3 separate regions of the Homo sapiens genome follow, and all the other regions are linked to region 1. Evidence: promoter capture Hi-C in 16 types of primary human blood cells and fetal thymus (Javierre and others, 2016). All regions are on one chromosome and are shown on one strand. The core of a region is centred on a gene start or on the middle of the fragment in contact, and the rest is flanking DNA. Distances in the headings are between cores, read along the strand shown. Region 1 holds the start of RUNX1T1 (RUNX1 partner transcriptional co-repressor 1). Region 2 overlaps TRIQK (triple QxxK/R motif containing). Region 3 overlaps TRIQK (triple QxxK/R motif containing).

What was found. Contacts are between HindIII fragments. The CHiCAGO score rates a contact against its expected background, and 5 or more counts as called.
Region 2: a contact is called between a fragment that was not itself captured here and the fragment with the promoter of RUNX1T1 in region 1, in 1 of 17 cell types (erythroblasts). The highest score is 6.4, in erythroblasts.
Region 3: a fragment that was not itself captured here is called in contact with the fragment with the promoter of RUNX1T1 in region 1 in 1 of 17 cell types (erythroblasts); the score reaches 6.2 in erythroblasts.

What each region holds. Positions count from the first base shown.
Region 1 is chr8:92,101,249-92,105,336 of GRCh38, forward strand. It overlaps RUNX1T1 (RUNX1 partner transcriptional co-repressor 1), which reads right to left and starts at 2,137. Exons shown (of 12, transcript NM_175634.3): 1 at 1,609-2,137. The HindIII fragment of the contact is 6,982 bases long and covers 1-3,609 here.
Region 2 is chr8:92,954,770-92,958,857 of GRCh38, forward strand. All of the region lies in intron 1 of TRIQK (triple QxxK/R motif containing), which reads right to left. Among named protein-coding and RNA genes, the nearest start is that of TRIQK, 9.3 kb to the right of the region's middle. The HindIII fragment of the contact is 2,744 bases long and covers 481-3,224 here.
Region 3 is chr8:92,933,274-92,937,361 of GRCh38, forward strand. The region is part of intron 2 of TRIQK (triple QxxK/R motif containing); the gene reads right to left. Among named protein-coding and RNA genes, the nearest start is that of TRIQK, 31 kb to the right of the region's middle. The HindIII fragment of the contact is 1,589 bases long and covers 1,186-2,774 here.

The DNA of each region.
Region 1 (4,088 bases), core at 887-3,386:
GAGATAAATCAATCTGCAGCAGCTGCGGACAGCCATTTATATACAGGCTCTGGGCAGATTAATTAAGAAAAGCGAAGTTAAAGATTCAAGGGGCCTCAGAGTTACATTAAGCACATGAAGTTTGTCTGGAGTGGCCTCTCCAGCTCTCCTGGTCTTCACTCCCTAGCTCTGGCCTCGGGCACTATTCTGCAGGACCTCCTCCACGGGAATCCTAGCTATTCCTTAAAGCGACCTTCTGCAGATTCCCCCAGGAAGCAGCAGCCAGACTAGGGCACGGTGGAATTTGTGGTGCCCAGTCTTCAAGGGTTTCTCCGTTACGCTTTGCAAGGAATGAGACCATGGGCTGCACGGCCGCCCAGCCAAATCCTCCAAACTGAAAGGCCTTTTGGGGGAGAGGGGGAGGGAAGGCGGCTATTTTTAGTAACAGTTGTGGCTCACATCCTACTTCCCGGAATCATAGTACTCAAACTTTTCCAAGGGTTGACCGCCCTTACAAAAAATAAAAAATAGCACGTTTCAAAAAATGGATCTGAGCGCCTTGTGCTGACCTAGCCGTATTTGCTCAAAGCACCCCAGTCAGCGCCAGGTCCCCCCCGGGAAAGAGGTCTGGGTGCGCCAACCAACCCGGTCCTTTCAGGTTCGCAAAGAGGGCGGTGAGCGGCGGGCCCTGGAGCGCGTCTCCACTGGCCCGGGGGCTTCACCAGAGGGGTTTCTGGAAAACGAAAGGAATTATCCGGACGTGGCTCCAAGTCTGGACCCCTTCGGGCGGGAGCTACAGGGCACAAGGTTGTGCTCCCCACTCAGAAGAAGCGGGCACCGAGTCGGGGCCGCGACGGGAACACCCAGGAGGGCCGGGGCGGCTGAGTCCAGAGCGCGCAGAGGTCGGGCGGGGACGACTCTCCCCATCGGCCCCTGACTGCGAAGCCCGGGACCAGCCTCGGGCGGGAGCCGCCGTCCGCCCGCTCACCCAGGAGCTTCCCAGTCCAGCACCCCAAACGGCCAGGAGTAACAAGGAAAGTTCGCAGGCAGGCGCAGAGCGCCTGGGTACCTCTAAGCAAACCCCCACCCTAGTTGCAGCCGGGTCCCAAAGTTAAGATCCCGCCTCTTTACTCCTTAGGGCTAAGTTTTCCACCATCAAAACAAGTCTTTGCTTCCAGTTTACAGAAAAAGAAAAGAAAAAAAAAAAAAAGAAAGGAAAAGAAAAAAACCCACGATGCGGGCATAGGGCCACCTGCCAAATGCACTGTGGGCACCTCGATCGGTTGTTTTGTCGGGGGAGAAACCCACTCGTCATCTTCCTGCTCGCATACCGTGACTATGGAGAGGGAAGAAAAATTATTTTTAAAAGACACTGTGGGGAATATAATAGTAAAAACTGCATCCTCGGCTGACCCGCGAAGTTCAGTGTCATCGCAGACCGGAGTCACCCGCGATGTTCCTCTTTGCCCTGGTGCGTAGTCCTACCCTAATTGAGCGACAAGTACAGCCTGGAGCCTCGCGGTCGAATAATCCAAACGAAGATGACGGTCATCGGAACAGTAATTAATAACAGTCAGGGGCCCGACCCCGCCGCCCGCCCGCCGGCCAAGCCCTACCGCGGACACTTACACTGCACAGGGCCGGAGAGTCCCACCATCCGCCACAGGCTCCGAGCTGCAAATAAAACTTCCCGTCGTCTCGGCCGGCCCGCGGGGCGACGGGGCGAGGACGCGGCGCGGCTTCCCTCGCGAGGCCAGAGTGTCCGCGGCCACTCGCCCACGCGCGCTCGCCACGAGACCGCGGAGTCGCGCCGCGGAGCGACTACGGCCGCCCGGCGCTGCGCAGAGAGAGCTGCCGTGCAAAAAGCCCGGGGTCGGGGACGCCAGCCAAACGCAACCTCCACGCAGAGCCCAAGACTTGCGGAGCTCTGCTCCCCTCCTCCCGCCTCCCTCCCTCCCTCCGCTTTTCTGTTGTTGCTGCTGTGGCAGACAAATGTGATGTGGGGCGCAGGGAATTGCCACTGTCACAGGCGGCGTCTGCGTCTCCCTCGCCCGCCCTCGCTCACTCTCGAGGAAGGCGACGCATTTATCTGCAGGGCGGCCGGGCGTCCGCCGGGGAGCAGGAGCGCCGCGCGCTGTGCGCCGAGAGCGCCCGCATCAGGCCGGCTCCGGCGCACGCTCGCGCCAGGGGCGCCGCGGCCGGTCGGGAGGGAGGCGGCTGCGCGGCCGCTACCAGGTGCAGGGGGGAGGACCCGCGGCGGGGCGTGGGGGAGGTGGAGGTGGGAGACATCTGTGTTGTGCGGGGGTCACGGAGGTCAAGTATATGTTAACAATGGGCAGGCCCGGCACGCTAGGGCGCGCGGGCTGGCGGGCGGCCTCCCTCCCGGCCTCGCCCTCTCCCATGCAGGCTGGACGTGGGGTTGGCTCCCTAATGATGCCTTCCCGGGCCGCCAGCTCTCAGGCGGCCCGAGTGCCCTGCAGTAACCCAAGACGACCACTTTCCCCGGCCATCTGGAGCGCTCCCGGCTGCCCTGCCTGTGTCTCATCACTGGCTGAAGAGACAGCTCTGCTAGAAATCAAGCCACTCTCAGATCTCCTCTCTAATCCCCTTCTGTTAGCTGATTTCCAGACTGACTATTTGCTTTCGCATTAGATAATAGCCTTAGAGAAAACAATTATCATTTTCTTTTATTCTCTTTGTTTTTCTACTTCTCCCATAGTATACCATTAAGAGGGACGGCTTTCTATCTCAGGTTTTTGTTAGATGTGTCCCCCTCCCCCAGACATTAATATCAATACTTGGGGGCAGTGTGGGGGGTAGTCCCGGAGGAAAAGATAGGGTGAAAGAATTCCAGATATTTCCAGAGTAAATAAATAATCTCGGTGAAGAGGACTGACAATTTGTACAGAGCCAAAAAGGGCTTGAATAATAATGAAAATATTAATATGTAGGTCAAATATGATCAGATAATGGCTTGCAATGATAAGTAAAATGAAATCTTTTAAAATTACTATGGAACGGTACCCTGACTGCAAATGTTATTGTATTTAGTGGAACTATTTGAAATCCTACTCTGAACCATGTTTTCTCCAACTAGCCTAAATCAATGTAAGATGTCCTGAATACGTGTTTTAAAATCTCATTTTTACAAAGGAAAAAAGGCATCAGATAGAGTCTGAGTCGGTCTGATGCAGTTGAGAACTGATGAGACATTTGTGGGTTTTATTTTCTGAAGTGGTGTTTCAAATATTTAATAGTGAGTAAAATCCCTTCCCCCATCCTTTTAAACCCAGCTGGAGCTTCCAATTCTGAAGTCTTTTCAGACTCTACTAATTTTTAGCAATTCATTTCCAGAAAACACTCATTGTACATTCTCCCCTCTCCTTGGGACATTTGTCTAATGAATTATAATAGATTAATGAATTGCAATGTTAAGTCTTGGTATTTGATATTATGATGCTCTTAATTTGAATCTCATTTTATCAAGGTGTACATTCTATAATAATTTCTGTATTACAGTTCTTTATATTTTGCTATAGTCGCAAATCTTAATAGCATGAATAATCTTAAACTATAAAATTTTATGTACACCATACTAATATAACTCCTTTGTGTAGAAAATTATGTCAAAGCTTACTATTGTTCTTAAAAGAATAAAATCATGTTGACATTTTATTATTCTATTACCTGTATTATCTCTTCTGTCCCCCAAATTGAAACCAAATAATTTGGATTCTGGAGGCATATAGTCATCTTTATTTAAAATTTAAAAAGTGATACCTGAATCAGGAATGATTCTTGTGAAATAGTGTTACTTCTAAAATCATAATTTAAAATATAGAAAAAGTAAATCAGCAATAGTTTTATGATATAAAAAAGCAGGGACAGAAATAAAATAGAAATGTTAGCTGCATTTTTCTTCTGTCTGTAAATTGTGCCAGTGTAGGTGTAAAATTATGGTAGAAACTTTGAACTTCTAAATCAATGAAAAGTAACTTGCAGGAAATCAAATCAGAATTGTACACAATCAAGATACATTCATGACACCAAGGCATATTTTGTAAGATGCCACAAACCTTAAAGGATCTTCCTTTTTGCTAGTCATACTT
Region 2 (4,088 bases), core at 603-3,102, 850 kb after region 1:
TTTTATATTATTATGAAGGCTCTGAGAAGTCCTGTAACAGAAGAATCTATTTAAATTTATGTGACCCAGTGTGTCTTAAACAATTATCTGAAAAGTAGCAGGAGATACTTCCACTGTTTTCTAAAGTCAAGCATAAATGTAAAAATACTGATATAAAATTATTTTCTGTTATTTTAATTTGCACAAGGTTGACTTTAAAAACAATTGTATTTATTCAGTCGTAAATGTTTAAGTATATGTTACTTTCTAAATGCACATTTTAAAAGCAACATGGAATAATAAGCAGGTAATGCATGATTTATTCATTTTTGTTCAGTGAATATTTACCAAATACATATTAAATGTCAGGCAATGAACTTATGTCAAGTTTTACACTGCAATTGCTCTCATATGGATAAGAGTATAAAATTTAAGTATTTCCAAACTGGGATCTAATAATAATACCAACTTAAAATTTAACCCCAACTATTTGGGAACACAAGCTTTACTTTACTAATTCTAATGAGATAATTAAAAATAGCAATTTTGGGGTTACTTTTAAATAGTGTTAACAATACAAGTCAAGAGTAATAATATGAAAGAATAATCCTTTTTAACAAAGGTGCTACAAAATAATACAGTTGGACCCTTCCTCACACCAAACACGAAATTTAATTCAAGATGAATCACAGAACTAAATGCAAAGACTAAAACTATAAAACATTTAAAGGAAATCGTAGGAATAAAACTTTATTACTTTGAGTTTGAAAATAGTCTCTTAGATACAACACCAATAGCACAAGCAACAAAATAAAAAACAGACAAATTGAACTCCATTAAAATAAAAATTTTATGCTTTAAAGAACATGACCAAAAAAGTGCAAAGACAGTCTGCAGAATAGAAGAAAATACTTGCACACCATATATATAATAAAAGTCTTATATCCAGAATATATAAAGAACTCTCACAACTCAACATAAAAGATCAAATAATACAATTTTTAAATGGGCAAAGTATTTGAACAATTTTCCAGAGAAGACATACAAATTGCCAAAAAGCACATGAAAAGATGCTCAACATCATTAGTCATTAGGAAAATCCAAATAAAAACCACAATGAGATACCACTTTACTCCTAGTAGGATGGCTATTTTAAAAAAATGCAAGTGGAGATAAGGAATGTGGAGAAATTGGAATCTTCATACATTGCTGGTAGAAATGTAAAATGTTACAGCCACACTTTGAAAAGTTTGGCAGCTCCTCAAAAATGCACGGAGTTACCACGTGACCAGCAATTTTAGTCTTAGGTATATATCCAAGAAAAATGAAAACATCTCCACACAAAAACTTATATACGAATGTTCATAGCAGCATTATTCTAATAGCCAAAAAGTAGAAATAACTCATGATGAACAGGTATATAAATGTGGTATATATCTATATGGTGGAATATTAAAAAGAATGAAATATTGATAATGCTGCAACATGGATGAACTTGTAAACATGTATCTAAGTGAAAGAAGTCAGTCACAAAAGTCCACTTAATACATAACTTTTATTGTTCCCTTTATATGAAATGTCCAGAATGGGAAGGTCAATAGAGAAAGAAAATAGATTAGTGGTTGCTTAAGGGTGCAGAGGCAGAAGGAATGGGAACTGACATAATGGGTACAGAATTTCTATCTGAGATAATGAAAATATTCTGAAATTAGATAGTTGCACAATATTGGGAATATTGTAAAAATTCCTGAATTATACACTTTAAAATGATAAACTTTATGATTGTGAAATATAGCTCAATAAAGCTGTTATTAAAATACAAGTGTCATAAAAATACAACTCTACAGTCCTTATCTAAAATGTTTGGGCCAGATATGTCTTGAATGATTTTAGATTATAAAAATGTAATAAACCTCATCTACCATAATTACATAACACTCCTGAAAGGATGTGGGGGAAGCATATTAATACTTCATAGAAAAATCTTATGCCATTTAATTACATAAATAGTCCCATGTCATTTCAAGTCTGTTTTTTGTCTCAATTAAGTTTGTAAAAAACTTGACAAAGTTTAATTTTGAAGAACTTTTGGATTTTGAAAATGCAAGTGATGGTTGTTGGGAGCCTTATTAATGATGATTGTTAATATTAGTAATAATAGCAGCTACGCATTTGTTGACTAGCAACTACTGTGGCAAACACTGTGGTAAGCACATCACATACCACAAATTTTCATAACATTTCTGCATGACAGGTACAATTTCCCAACTGAGGAAATTGAGTTTCCTAATGATTAACTGACTTGCCCAAGCATGCAAAGTTGACAGGGAAAGTAGCAGAGATTAGAACTCAAATCTATCTGATTATAGAGCTTACTCTCTTTCCTCTATGTATTAGAGTATGTTCAGACCACTCACCAGAACTACAGACTCTACCTCTGTAAAATGGAGTAAGAGCCTTTTTACATATACATACATGTGTACATAACCATATATACATATATGTAAGTATGTATATAAATATACATATGCATGTATGTATACATAAAATTAATGTATGTACATAAAATATATGTATATTTACGTATACATACACATACAGATACACATATATACACATATATATGTGAAGTAAGAATGAAATGAAGTATTTTTATGAAAATGTGTCAAATATAAAGATCTACATAAATATAAGACAATATCATCTGAGTAACTATTTTCATTATATATCTAAATCAAGGTTCAAAGGGGATATGTTTTCAGTTAAATTTTACAAAGGCATTCCAAACAAACGTATTAATTTTAGTAGAAGAAATGCAAAGTGTTAATTTAAACATTGGTTTTAAATATCTAAGCAAAGAAAATCTAAATATATTCAAGTGGTCTATAACTAAACTTCTATCATCTCAAACTTTCATAAAGTTTTTGGGGTGCAGTATGCAAGCATATACATTATGTTTTGTCTTAAAGCAGTTAGTTCTATCTACTCAGGAGAAGCCAGAACAGATTACGTTTTTACTTTATAAGTAACTTCTTAATATTCTAAAAAAGTTTAATGATTTACGTTTATTTAACAGCCTGCTCACATAAGTTTACCTACCACGTAAGTTCCTAGGGTAACTAGGGGATTGTTTATATATTCCCCCTTAAAGGAAAACCTGTGTATACCTCAGTACAACTTTTATTCCATGAAAGTATAATCATAGAATTAAAGAACTTTAGAAAGTGTGGTACAGTATTTGAAAAAGCTTCAGAACCATTTCAAAATACCAATTTGATCATGTTGCTCTCCATTTGAAAACCTGAAATGGATCCTCATTGCCTCCAAGATGCAAATAGTTTTGCATGTCATATAAGAGCCTCCTCAGCCTTTGCCAGCAGGTTCATACTGCCTCAACTCTAGCCACTTTTCTCTAGATTAGGCCCCAATCACTAAACTTCTTTTGATTTTCCAATCACAAGAACCCATTGACAGCTTAATAGCTTTACAAATCTTATTATACTTATTTCAATGTTGCTCAGCCCTAGCCTTGTCTAACTTGAATTCATAGGCACCCTTCAAGACCCCATTTCAATCAATTACGTACTTTCTCTGTACAAGTCACCTATACCTGCTGGACAAATCTTTGGTTATCTGATTGATATGTAACTCATAACTCACTTATTAAATATTGTACATACTTATCTCTATAAACATCTAGATTTTTGGCATATAATAGTATCCATTATTTCTTATTATAATATTGAGATATTACCTGATTTTCATCTTTGGAAATAAAACTGTAAAATATTTACATGAATTTTGTTTCATTTATGGAATAGAGATGGAAAAGAGAAGATGTGGATTATAAAATTCAAATAATAATAGATTCCTGAGGTTAACCTTAACCCATATAAGACCAAACAGATGCTGGGGTAAGTCAAACACTGAAGGGCAAAAATTGAATAAATCTGAGTCCCTTGAACTGAAAAGAAAAGTACACTATGTCTTACAATTCAGGTCAGGAGTTGGAAAACTTCTTCTGCTTTCTAGATACAAATATTATAGGCTTTGGATGTCAAGAGGGAAAATCAAATTATAACAATGTGACTATGATTTTAGTGTGCTGA
Region 3 (4,088 bases), core at 730-3,229, 830 kb after region 1:
TTTTTTGTATAATATTTTACAAAACAATTAATACCTAATATTTCTAAAATTTGTGAGTCACCTATGAAACAAAGGATAAGAACCGATTTGAATTAAATCTACAGAATAAATAACCTGTGCTCATATAGACCAACTTGGTGATAATGGTAATATCAAATATTAAATACCCCATAGAGGTCTATCACCTTATTTTACACCTTATAGACATATGCTCCACGCTATGGCAAGGAAAATGAGACTGTGCTTAAACCAACCACACCTACTGCTGAAGCTGGCCATGGGGTCTGTTTCTCCTAAACATATGACTGTCTGCAAAATGGGTAGATAAAAGAATAAAACCAGTGTTCTTTGAAGATAAGGCATAAAGATTCTAGATAGAAAACTAAAAGCATCAGTCCTATGTGTAGCCACATACTGTATGTTTACATGGGTATTTATACATTTAAAAATATAGCTTGTCTATATCAGATTGCTAACATTCAAGATATATATTGTGAAATCATGTTTCTGTATATTGATTCATCACTTAATCTAAGGTTTAAACACAATGATTCTCACACTTCTGACTATAAAGTACACAGATAACATATCACTCACTGAATCTCCTTGATCTATTTTAGCGGCAAGCATCACTTATGCTAATTTTTAGTCATTTCTATGTGTATTATCAATTTCAAGTAATTAGGTTTCCAAATTCAACAAAAAAATCCTTAAGTGACTAGGGAAAGTCACTCAGTTCCACACAGAGAGAGCAGGAGAGAAAGTGTGAAAGAAATAAAAACCTCTATTATTTTTGTAATGGTGGCTATTTCAATGGTGAACTGAAAAAGCAAGTTCTAGTTTGGTACATGGATAGTTTCCAAAAGACGTTCAATGATTATCCCTTGACTAAATAAAGAATAGTAGGGAAATGTACCAGACAAGAAGGCATAAAACCTTAGCCACATCTTTTCAATGAAAGACTAGATGACATTGACAAAGTCAATCAGTTTCCCTTCTTACACAATTGCTAAACTCTCTTCCAGTTTAAAAAACATAGAATACATAAGCATATGTATCAGGCTAAGGGTAATTATTTTCATGCCGAGAAACACATCCTTAAATATTAAGACAGAACTAACAATAAGTACATAACTTTTAAGCATATATATCTTAAAACTAATGGAAATTATGTGTACTGAAATAAGCTTAAGTATATAAGAGGAAACAAAGAGCTCAAGACAACAATAACAAGGCCCTTTATGGAAATTTTGCTTCCAATGTAATAGCTTCAAAATGCTGTATGACTTATTTAAAAGAGCTTTATTAGTAATTAAATGTCAAAAGTATAAAAACAACTGGTCTATATCCAATTTCATAGAAGTTGTACTAAACGCATTCATTATATCGAAGTCCCAGGTGATTATAGCATTAGCACTTTGTTAGTATTTGCAGACTGCTAGTTTTCAAACAGATTGTGGTATTATAACATGTATTTATCAGCTATGATGCAAATTATGCTTTTAAAATACCACCGAATTTTTCCACTAGAGAAATACAATAAAGATTTTTGAGCTTAAAAAATTGAGAAAACAACATGGAAAAAGGTTAATGGAAATAAGCACTAGGCTATTAGCTAATATAACTCTACTATGTAGAAACAAATAAATAAGTAAAAATAGATGGAATAGTACAATACGAAAAAGCATAAGTAGATTTCCTGTTACAATGGATTGATGGAGAAAAGAATTTCCCAAGTTAAACTGTAATACAAACAAAAAACCAGAAGTTCTACTTTGTGCCAGCTTTTTATCTTCCATCTCCTATTCCCTAATTCCCACTCTATCAAATCTGTAATGCCTTTCATAAGGTATTTCATTTAAAAAGATGTCAAAGTTCTGCTTGATAGTTAATTGTCGGCCTTTTTAAGAGTATTCAGTCTCACAAAAAATAACAAAGAAAAGCTAGCAAATGAAAATACGAAAAATATACTTTTGAATAAACTGTTCAAGATAATAAAAGATTCCAACTTGATCAATGTTGTGAACTACAAATATTAAAACACTTCAACAGCAAATGTTTAGAAATTATTGCTAAAATAAAATAATCAGGGTTTTGGTTAAAAGCGTGTTCATTCTGTGAAAATTCACCGTCTACATATTCTGTTTTGTGCACGTTCCTTTATGTACAGTATTATGCATCAACAGAAAGTTTTGAAAAATTAGTAATGTAGCTAAAGTGATAAGTAAGCACAAATTAGAAAAGACAAAAGATTGAAAAATAATGAACCAAAAAGGAAATAATAGAAAAAGAATAAAGCCCTTCAAATTACAAAAAGTCATAAACTAAAAGCAATAAATAATTAAATTTAAAAAACAGAGTCAAAAGGGATGATCAACATAGACAAAAACTGAGCCTTTGAAAAATAATAACATGGAACAAACTCTTGTCCTGACGGAATAAGAAAAAAATACACAAACAGTATTAGATATTTAAAAAAAGACTCAATATTCAGCAGAGATTAACATTATATAACAAGAAGATTCTATTAAAAATGCCATATCAATAAATTTAAAAATTAAAACACATTTCTTAAAAAACAGACTTACCAATAGCAGCTGAAGAAGGTAGAGATCAAATAGAATAAAATTCAGTGGAACTATAATTTTTTAAGTCAATCAATGTTTAAAAATCTACCCTTAAAAAATAAGACATACACACACAAAACAGGTAAGATTAAATGGTCAACAAGGAAGTTTTATTAACCATTCAAGGAACACATAATCCCTACAACAAGCTTTATCAGGTATATAAAATATTAAACTATTTTGAAGCCTAAAAATTGGCACACTTCTCAACTCATTTCATAAGGCTAATAGAATCTTGAAATGAGAACAAGGCAAGATCATTATGAGAATGAAAAATTACAAGCCAATCTTATTTATGAACAAAGATACAAAAATCCTAAACATAATATTAGACAACCAAATCCAGTATGTATAATCATAATGATAAAATATTCCATGATGAAGCTGGGCTAATCACAAAAATGAAAGGGCAATTTAACATTAGATATTATCTTAGTAGTATTCTTGTTAACTGATTAAAGGAGGAAAATACTGACAGACCTCAATCAATACAGAAAAATAAAAGTTACATTCAATACCCATTCATTATTACAGGGGGAGAGAGAAGGAAGAAAGATAGAGGATGAACAGAGGGAGGCAGGAAGGAGAAAGCAAGGAATTTAGTATATAGAAATAGAAAAGAACTTTTTACCCTGTTGATACATAGGCAAACAAACAAAGCAAAGATTATCCTAAATAGAGAAAAATTAAAAGTTCTCTTTTAAAAATCATAAGCAAGACAAAGACATTGCAGTGAGACATCCAGATAGCACAGTAAGACAAAAGGGGAAAGAGCATAGGGGATTGGAAAGGAAAAAGAAAACATTATGATTCACAAATAATATGACTCCCAGGTGGCAAAGTGGAGAGAAACTACAGACAAATATTTGAATCTGTATGAAATTATTTGTAAGAGCTCAGCCAGGTTATGATATATAAAGTTTATATATAAAATTCTAATTTAGTATAGCAACAAAATCTATAAAGCAGCTATAAATACTATGGAATACCTCTAAAAGTATATGCATGACTACTTATTGAACTGTTATAGGAGCTCAGATTATTACAATAAGTTAAGAAGAGTAATTAATAAAATATTTGAGGGAGCAATGTGGCAATACCCAGTAAAATTAAAGATTATGTACCTACAAGAACCATTAATCAACTGCTAGTTATATGAACTAGGGAAACAATTCTATATGTGCACAAAAACACTAGTAAGTACACTCACTGAAAATGTTTTTAATAACAGCAAAAAAGGAAAATAAAACTCTGTATGTCTACATAATTTATTCATAAGTGAAATATAAAGCAGTTAAAATGTGTGAACAAAGACACATGTATTTATACACTTACAAAACAACTTAAAACATGAAAAATCAATAGTCAATATTATTTAGGGAAAAATATACCTATACCAACACACACACACACATGCACCCAAATGATAAACGCCAAATTCTGTGGTTATATAGCAGGAAT